Linked DNA regions of Homo sapiens: all the other regions are linked to region 3. The links are contacts of gene promoters, found by promoter capture Hi-C in blood cells and fetal thymus (Javierre and others, 2016). All regions are on one chromosome and are shown on one strand. Each heading gives the region's core, a stretch centred on a gene start or on the middle of the fragment in contact. The rest is flanking DNA. Distances are from core to core; before and after follow the strand shown.

What was found. Contacts are between HindIII fragments. The CHiCAGO score rates a contact against its expected background, and 5 or more counts as called.
Region 1: a fragment that was not itself captured here is called in contact with the fragment with the promoter of NDST4 in region 3 in 1 of 17 cell types (M2 macrophages); the score reaches 6.5 in M2 macrophages.
Region 2: a contact is called between a fragment that was not itself captured here and the fragment with the promoter of NDST4 in region 3, in 1 of 17 cell types (M1 macrophages). The highest score is 5.1, in M1 macrophages.

Annotation. Positions count from the first base shown.
Region 1 is chr4:115,816,397-115,819,752 of GRCh38, reverse strand. No RefSeq gene overlaps it. Among named protein-coding and RNA genes, the nearest start is that of MIR1973, 480 kb to the left of the region's middle. The HindIII fragment of the contact is 1,404 bases long and covers 551-1,954 here.
Region 2 is chr4:115,798,594-115,801,809 of GRCh38, reverse strand. No RefSeq gene overlaps it. Among named protein-coding and RNA genes, the nearest start is that of MIR1973, 500 kb to the left of the region's middle. The HindIII fragment of the contact is 1,605 bases long and covers 658-2,262 here.
Region 3 is chr4:115,111,660-115,115,170 of GRCh38, reverse strand. It overlaps NDST4 (N-deacetylase and N-sulfotransferase 4), which reads left to right and starts at 1,551. Exons shown (of 14, transcript NM_022569.3): 1 at 1,551-1,727. The HindIII fragment of the contact is 2,024 bases long and covers 364-2,387 here.

The DNA.
Region 1 (3,356 bases), core at 3-2,502, 700 kb before region 3:
ACTACTACAATAAAACGCTGGCTAAAATCTTTGGACTTTGGAGTGGGCAAAGATTTCATGAGTAATACCCCAGAAACACAAGCAACTAAAGCCAAAATGGACAAATGAGATCATATCGAGTTACCAAGCTCTGAACAGCAAAGGAAGTAATCAAAAAATGAAGAGACAATTTACAGAACAGAAAAACATATTTAAAAACTGCCCACCTGACAAGGGATTAATAATCAGAATATATAAGGAGCTCAAATAACTCTAAAATAAAAAACCTATTAATTCAGTTTAAAAATGGGCAAAAGATGTAAATAGATATTTCTTAAAAGAAGACATACAAATGGCAAGCATGTATATGAAAACGTGCTCCACATCATTGATGATCAGAGAAATGCAAATCAAAACTAAAAGGAGATACTATCTCAACCCAGTTAAAATGGCTTATATCCAAAAGATAGGCAATAACAAACCCTGGCAATGATGCAGAGATAAGGAGCCCTTGTACCCTGTTGGTGGAAATGTAAATTCATACAGATACTACGGAGAAAAGTTTGAAGCTTCCTCAAAATCTAATAATAGGAGCTCTCATATTATCCAGCGGTCCCATCATTAGGTATAATATAAAAGCAAGAAATCAGTATATTGAAGATATATCTGCACTCCCATGTTTATTGGAGCATTATTTCCAACAGCCAAGATTTGGAAGAAACTTAAGTGTCCTTCAGAAGACAAATGGATAAATAAAAGATGATACTTATACAGTAGTACAAGGGAGTACTATTTGGCTGTAATAAAGAATGAGATCCTGTCATTTATAACAACATTGATGGAACTGGAGGACATTCTTCTTCTTATTATTATTTATTTTTTGAGACGGAGTCTTGCTCTGTCACCCAGGCTGGAGTGCAGTGGCGCCATCTCGGCTCACTGCAAGCTCTGCGTCCCGGGTTCACGCCATTCTCCTGCCTCAGCCTCCCGAGTAGCTGAGACTACAGGCGCCCACCAACATGCCCAGCTAATTTTTTTGTATTTTTTTTAGTAGAGACAGAGTTTCACCGTGTTAGCCAGGATGGTCTCGATCTCCTGACCTTGTGATTGGAGGACATTATTTTAAGCGAAATAAGTCAGACACAGAAAGACAAACTTTACCTGTTCTCACTTATTTGAGGTGAAAATTAACATAATTAAACTCATGGAGACAGAGAGTAGAATGATGGTTACCAGAGGCTGGGAAGGGTAATGGAGGTGGGAGAGAAAAGGAAGTAGCGATATTTAATTGGTACAAAAATATAGTTAGAATGAATAAAATCTAGTATTTGACAGAATAACAGGGTCACTACAGTAAATAATAATATACCGTACATTTAAAAATAAATACAAGAGTATAATTTGATTGTTTGTAATACAAAGAAAGGATAAATGCATGAGATGATGGATACCCCATTTACCCTGCTGTGATTATCATGCATTTTATGCCTGTATAAAAACACAGACATGGTTTTTTTGTTTGTTTGTTCGTTTGTTTTTTTTTGAGACAGAGTTTTGCTCTTGTTGCCCAGGCTGGAGTGCAATGGCGCGATCTTGGCTCACCACAACCTCTGCCTCGCAGATTCAAGCAATTCTCCTGTCAGACATGTATTTTTATACAGGCATACAATGTATACAAAATGTATACGATGCAATATCAAAATATCTCATGTAGCCCATAAATATATACATATACTATGTTCCCACAAAATTAAAAATAATAAAAAAAGGAAATCTAATATTGTTTTTAAAATTAAAGAACATCAGGAATTTGGAGTAAATGTTTCTGTCAAGAAGTAGAGTTAAAGCATCACAACTAAGCAGACTATGAGTGAACTACATTTCTTTTTTTTTTCTTAAGAAGCATCAGATGTTTAATTTGTTTTTGACTTACAGTATTAGTTCTATTTCTTTTTTTATTATTATACTTTAAGCTTTAGGGTACATGTGCACAATGTGTAGGTTTGTTACGTATGTACACAAGTGCCATGTTGGTGTGCTGCACCCATTAACTTCTCATTCTCATTTACATTAGGTATATCTCCTAATGCTATCCCTCCCCCATCCCCCCAACCCATGACAGGCCCTGGTGTGTGATGTTCCCCTTCCTGTGTCCATGTGTTCTCATTGTTCAATTACCACCTATGAGTGAGAACATGTGGTGTTTGGTTTTCTATCCTTGAGAAAGTTTGCTGAGAATGATGGTTTCCAGCTTCATCCATGTCCCTACAAAGGACATGAACTCATCCTTTTTTATGGCTGCATAGTATTCCATGGTGTATATGTGCCACAGTTCCTTAATCCAGTCTATCATTGATGGACATTTGGGTTGGTTCCAAGTCTTTGCTATTGTGAATAGTGCCGCAATAAACATACGTGTGCATGTGTCTTTATAGCAGCATGATTTATAATCCTTTGGGTATATACCCAGTAATGGGATGGCTGGGTCAAATGGTATTTGTAGTTCTAGATCCCTGAGGAATTGCCACACTGATGTCCACAATGGTTGAACTAGTTTACAGCCCCACCAACAGTGTAAAAGTGTTCCTATTTCTCCACAACCTCTCCAGCACCTGTTGTTCCCTGACTTTTTAATGATTGCCATTCTAACTGGTGTGAGAAGGTATCTCATTGTGGTTTTGATTTGCATTTCTCTGATGGCCAGTGATGATGAGCATTTTTTCATGTGTCTGTTGGCTACATGAATGTCTTCTTTTGAGAAGTGTCTGTTCATATCCTTCTCCCACTTGCTGATGGGTTTGTTTTTTTTCTTGTAAATTTGTTTGAGTTCTTTGTAGATTCTGGATATTAGCCCTTTGTCAGATGAGTAGATTGCAAAAATTTTCTCCTATTCTGAAGGTTGCCTGTTCACTCTGATGGTGGTTTCTTTTGCTGTGCAGAAGCTCTTGAGTTTAATTAGATCCCGTTTGTCAATTTTGGCTTTTGTTGCCATTGTTTTTTGTGTTTTAGACATGAAGTCCTTGCCCATGCCTATGTCCTGAATGGTATTGCCTAGGTTTTCTTCTAGGGTTTTTATGGTTTTAGGTGTAACATTTAAGTCTTTAATCCATCTTGAATTAATATTTGTATAAGGTGTAAGGAAGGGATCCAGTTTCAGCTTTCTACATATGGCTAGCCAGTTCTCCCAGCACCATTTATTAAATAGAGAATCCTTTCCCCATTTCTTGTTTTTGTCAGGTTTGTCAAAGATCAGATAGTTGTAGATATGCGGCAATATTTCAGAGGGCTCTGTTGTGTTCCATTGGTCTATATCTCTGTTTTGATACCAGTACCATGCTGTTTTGGTTACTGTAGCCTTGTAGTATAGTTTGAAGTCA
Region 2 (3,216 bases), core at 211-2,710, 690 kb before region 3:
CTACACTCCAGCCTGGGCGACAGAGCGAGACTCCATCTCAAAAAAAAAAAAAATTCAATTGAACAGTGACATTATACAATGAAAGAGAGAATTTGTGACTAGAGACATAAAGCAACAGAAAATATATAGTTCATTATGTGAAGAGAGAAAAAAGAGAAAAAAGCATATGAGTCATGTTGACTCCAGAATAACCTTGATTTAAAAACCTGCTAAAATATTTCAAAAATGAAAATTTCAGGTCAATTGCATTTGCAAACATGGATAAAAAAATCTTAGGCAAAATATTAGCAAACAGAATCCAAAGACATACCTAGGATTTCTGTTTTCAAAGTCAATAAATATAATTCACACATTAACAAAATATAAAGAACAAACATATGATGTCCAAACATCATATGATGACCAAATTTCATATCCATCATGACTAAAACTCTTAGAAAACCAGAGACAAAAAGAAACTTCCTTAACCTCAATACAGAACATTTACATAATAAAATATGCAAATGGTCAATAAGCATATGAATATCTGTACTACATCAATGGTAATAAGGAGAATGCAAAGTAGAACTATTCTAACGTATTTCTACATACTCATCAGGCTACAATTAAAAATACTAAAGTACTAAAAGCAGGAAAAGTTGTGAAATAACAGAAGCTTTTATCTACTTCTAAATTAGTACAACCACTTTAGAAAACAGCTTTTCAGCATATATGAAAGGGAATGTATAAATACACTATGTCCCCAGAGTTTTATACCTGCTTTCATAGATAACACAAACCCATGGATACATGTATCAAAAGACATGTGCAAGAAGGCTAGCTATAATATTAACTGTAGTAATTAAAAATACAAAAGTAACCCAAATGCTCATTAACCATCTACTGACAAAATAAATAACTTATTTTATACAGAAGACATAAATCTAATCTTGAATAAAATTTGCCAGAAATAAAATAAGACATAATATATGGTTCCATTTGCATATATTTCAAACTTAAAGAAAATTAATCTATCATGCATATACAAGGATAGTTACTTTTCAGGAGAGAGTGAGATGAGTAGGAGAAAGGATGAGAGGTTTTCTGGGTTGCACTTAAGGTCTTTTTCTCAAGAATATTCTGGTTGCTTACATGTAATCACTTCATGAACATTTATCTAGGTGTGTATTTATGACCCGCTCATGTTTCTGAATGTACTATTAGACTTTAATAAGTGAGTTTATATAACATAGCGTTGCTCACAGTATCACATTGTGAGAATCTGCTGGGAAGACAATTAGAGGGCCTATCACACAGCACTTCATGGGACAAATATTAAAGACTTTTTTTTATGGCTGAGGGCATTGAAGAGCCATTTAAATGTTTTAATGAAGGGCTTATTTTTCAGATAACATTTGCACTTTGGAATTCTGAATGCAGAAATGGAGAATTGACTGGAAGCAAAAAAAGGAGGTTCAACAGAATAACTAATATTCTAGAAGACACATGAAAATATCTTGGACTAGTTTGTGTGTGTGTGTATCTACATAACAGGGAGACAGGAGAGAAGGGGGTTGCATTGTGAAGATAAATGTGAAGATTTAATAGACATAATATGGTTCAGTTTGATAGAGTTTGATGTTGAGCTTAAGTTTGATGGAGTGGAGAAGGACAAAAGTAAATTACTGTCCTGTATAACAGAATAGTTACACATGTCTTTTGAGTGTAAGTCTTTTTCATCCTTTAGAATGTTGTTTGTGAAGTGTTTTTAAGATAAACAGAGATACCAAACAGCATATTCCATCATGAGCTCTGAGGAGATAACTAAAATGATGATATACATTTGTAAGTTTTCTTTCAATAAAGTAAATCTCAAAACCTAAGATTTGGATAAGATCAAGGAAGAAGGTATAGATTGAAAAGAGAAGGTTTTCTAGGTCTGACCTGGAGAAACTCAATTTACCGTGGTTTTATTATTGAAACCGGATTTGCACAGGAGACTGAATGGGTGGTCAGTGAGGTAGAAAAAATGCATGAGAATATTGTAAAAGAAAAAACAAAGTACATAGAAATAAATGAATGGGTGGGGGGATTAACACTCTGGGTAGAATGAGATTTGGACTTAGTAACACAGAGGCTATGGCTTTGTTTAGTAGTGGGAGCTGCTTAGGTTATTAATAGAGACAGAAGCCAGTTCCAATGAATTGCCAGACATGTTGGTGACAAAATAAAAACAATAAGAATAGGCACACGTTTTGAGAGTGTCAGTCATGAAGGAAAGCTTAGTATAGGTTGACAAAAGGAAGAAATAGGATTCAGAAGTTTTGTTGCTGCTGCTACTGTTATTGATTTTTGAAATAAGGAGAACTGAGAAGATGCTTTTAAAAATGAGAAGAATCAAATTGAGAGAACCTGATTGCATGTTGAGAGAAAGAATAGATAATAAGCACTGGGATAGAAAATAGTTCAAAGAGATCCAAAGCACAGATTGAGGCATTCTCCTTTCAAAGAGGAAGAGGCACTCATCTGCTGTAGCAGGTGGTTAGATTCTAAATCAATGGGTTTTTCAACTGAAAAAAAAGACACTGCCAACCAATTTTTGAATGAATTTTAAATATGACATTTTAATATACAATTTATATCCAAATTTTATGTTCTATAAAATTGTCAAGAAGAAAGCATGTGTATTCAAAACTGCTAAAATAACATTACATAAATAATTTTAAAAGCATTTTTGCTATATTTACTTAGTGTAAGGCATATTATTTACCTATATTATTTGTCAATCATATTACATACTCCTCACAGTAGTTTATTTAAAAGTGTTGTTTTTATTAGCATTTGTATATAGCTTAGATATTTCAAATTTTATGGGTGAAACACCTGGAAATGAAGCAAGATAACTTCTAGGCATTTAGTTCTTTTAATGAACAGAAGATAAAAATATTTTGTATTTTCACAATTTTAATAAGATGAAGTATAGTATTTAAGCTAAAAGAATATTAGGATCCCATTTATAGGTATAAGTGTTAATTTACATGAAAATAAATGTATTTAAAAGAGGAGATTTGTTTGTAGCTCCATAATCCACTTTCTTTCTAGCCTTTCTTTAGTGGATTTTATGTTACTGATATAACAAATCATATTTGAATTATCTGATTTCTAAATTGGGAAGGTACAGCATCATGCTGAAAGGGCAATGTTTGCTTCTGCAACTACGAAATTGTCTAAATAATT
Region 3 (3,511 bases), core at 302-2,801:
AACTAACTGATACATGACCTATGAGTTACTAGGTTTTATTTATTGCTTATGAATAACTGGTAAATATTTTTTCTAACTTGCTAGATTTTTTTTCCCTATTCTCTGTATGGCATATGTCTATGGCTTGCTAACCCTCAAAACCTTGTGCAGTATAATAATACTAGTAATCCTGGATGCATTAAAATTATTCTTCTGAAAGACCACATCATCAATAAATGCTGAGTTTTGAAGGACTCCCTCCTACCCCTACCTTCCAGTCTTATAGAGGATTTCATTGAAACCACACCAGTATTTCAAGTGGAACTACTACGTACAACCAAAGACACCCATATACCTGAGGAGGACTTGGAGTTGAGAAAAGCTTGTAGTTCTGTTCTGCAACCTATTAGGGGTGTTGAACCAAATTCTCATTAGCCTATCTTATTCCACTAAATTAAATGGTAGAAACTAAGGGATGTACTAAAGCAAGAAAAGCCCAGGGAATCATGTAGTCTGGAATGAGGAGAAGTACCTGAAAGCACTTTACTTTTACTTTTACATATATCCTAATGAATAAGTTTAAAGAACTTTACATAATGTATATAAAAGTACTTGATAATATCTTTATGTGTTTACACGAATTAATAGAAAACAAAGAGCAGGTAATTTTCAACTTATATTGCCACGTTAAAAAGAAGAAAAGAGACATAGAAAAGAACTTTTCCATAATAATCCAGTAGTTTACCTTAATTACTAAAACAATGCACACAATAAATTCACACGCACATACTCTTTCTTTTCTTCTAACATTTATCATGGTCTAAAATGCTGTTATTAACTTCAGGACTATGTAGCTTACTAATACTTGTCCGAGTTTCCTATTGCTCATTGTTGGCTTTTGTTGAGTTTGTAATTTTTGTGTTTAACTGGCACACATTTACAGCAGAAAATCCTGCTTTGAACTTTTCTTATTTTGTCCAATAGAATCTCGTGGAACAGTGTCATAGCTGCAAAGTGGAATTCTATCCTCAAATTTCATAGGAAATAGTCGAACTGTACAATGAAAGATTATGCAAATCTTCAAGGAGCATCTAATCAATCACCGCGGTGTGAGCGGAATGCAGCCCATCGCTGAATTAGCTTCTGTTGGAATGTATTCATGTGTAACATCCCACTGACTGGATGACATCACAACAGCTCCAGGTCCTTGAAAGTCTTGAGGATGATTAGCTGAAGGAATTGGCTGTTTCTGCCAATCATAATCCGGCAAAGCTGCCTTTATAGTTCTGGAGATGTGAGAGAGAGGGAGGGAGGGAAAGACCGACTACAGCTAAACAAGAGGCACAGCAGCACTAGCAACAGCAGAGCAGGAGCAGCTGGTATTCCGGTGATTAAATAGTTCTCATAGCCTTTTTGCTGTACTCGGTCTGCTCCCTGGTGTAATTCTCGTGTCCAAGAAGGAAGCTGCATTTTAACGGTGTGCTGAACAGAGGTTTGAATCATTCCAGCTGGCTGCTTGTTTTGAAAAGGACAATGTGTGTATAAATAAAAGGACTCTGCTGGAAGAGTTCAGACACTAAGACTGGAGCTAGAGAGTGCTCTTGGAATATTGTTGAGGCAGATTGCATGAACTGAAAGCTCCTTCTAATTAACCTGGAGCCAAGTGAACCTGAATACTGGATATCTCATGTTCTAACACGGGATAAATTCAAGTTAGAAAAAGACAAAATATTGAAATGCTTCTCTAGGTAAGTTACTGCTTAATTTGCTGAAATCGAGGTGTGTATCATAAATGAATATGCGTTGCTTAGCTATGTAAACAAGTCGGACACAATAAAGTTTTATTTGTGAAAGATTTATGTAGAAGCAGATAATATCTTAAAACCAAATTCAATCTCCCTTTTCCGCATGTGTGTGCTTACCTGTCATCATGCTTTATAGAAGTTATATTTGCACGTAAGTAGAAAATACAGTCGTACATAAAAAAAAAGAGATACAACTTGATAAAATTTAAACAGTTGCCGGAACATTTGCATAGGAAATATCTTATTTGATAACAACTTTAGCCTTTTCATATTAAAAGCACCAATTTTACAAACTCAACATCCAAAGTTAACTGTAGGGTTATAAATGTTTCCCTAATAAGTGTTACTGAAAACATGGCATTCAAATTACCGAAGATGGGAACTCCTGTTTTTTGGACCTGAGATTTATAGGCATGCTCTGTACTAATGGTCTGCTTTAGAGAAACAGCTGTCACAGACATGTGAAATTGTATGTTACAGTCATAAATTGCTTATAAAGAAATAGGTGCTTTCCTCCTACCTCCTATTAGAAAAGAAAAATAAATTCTTAGAACAATATATGTCATATGCCCTAAGCATAGTTTCCTAGGAGGACAGAAAGCTTTATGGTATACCTCCAATTTCCTCAAGCACAGAATAAGTTGGAAAACAAGAAATGTTATTGGAATATGGTTTTACTCATTCTTTTCAATATTCTTTTTGAGAAAGCTAAATAAGGAAAATTAAACCTTATTTTTCTTAGAATTTGTCCTGATTAATAAAATACTATATTCTACAGAATTCCTGTCATAGTTTTTTTAAGTGATTATATGTTTTGTTTATTATGATAAGTTATACTGTGAGTTCTCATACAGCTTTAGAAAGTTTTAAGTTTATGTTTTATCATGTCTCTTTCAAACTCACCTTTGCTTGTTTTCGTGGTGCCTTTTATCAGAATATTTTTCATTTGCACAGTTTCATAAATGCTTTAACATAAATTGCATACCAAGATACTGATGTGTTTCTGTAACTCTCAGAATGATTTTAGTTTTCCACTTTCTCACCAACAACATGGTTAAAATCCTGTGAGGTTTCTGCCCCAAGAGGAAATTGATAAAGATGAAAGTTATTGTAATTGGTTGAATTTCCCCAAAACTAGGAAGCAATGAATTTTCCCACAACGATGTAAAGGTTTTTTTTTTTTTTTCATATCAAAAGAGTAATTTATTCTACTCTATTAAAAGTATGCCAGTTAGCTATATCCCAGTGTCACATAGGTTCTGTGCTGGTCATTTGTGTGCATGAGTGTGTGCGTGTGTGTGTGTGTGTGAGTAGCAAGTTTATGTAAAGAATATAAAGTCCACTGACTACAACAGTCTAAGTTTTCAACTGGAATTCATAAAAAACTAATTAATAAGCAAAATATAATTGCCATTTACATTTATCTCAATATATAAATGGGAAGTTAAGCCTACTATTGTTGACATTTTTAAAAATAAGAAATCGTATGACAATACATTATGATGATCAATATTAAACAATGTTTACATTGATAGACATCTCATAATAAGCTAATTGGGAAGATTTTTAGAAATTGAATACTAAGCAGAATGGGCCTTTTAACTCTATCTGAATGGCACCTGGTCACCACTAAGACTGATACATAAAAACCCTTTGAAAAAGTTATAATATATATGAGTTACTAATATAACTTGAAAATCACCCTTAGATCCAATTTAGAAACTCAG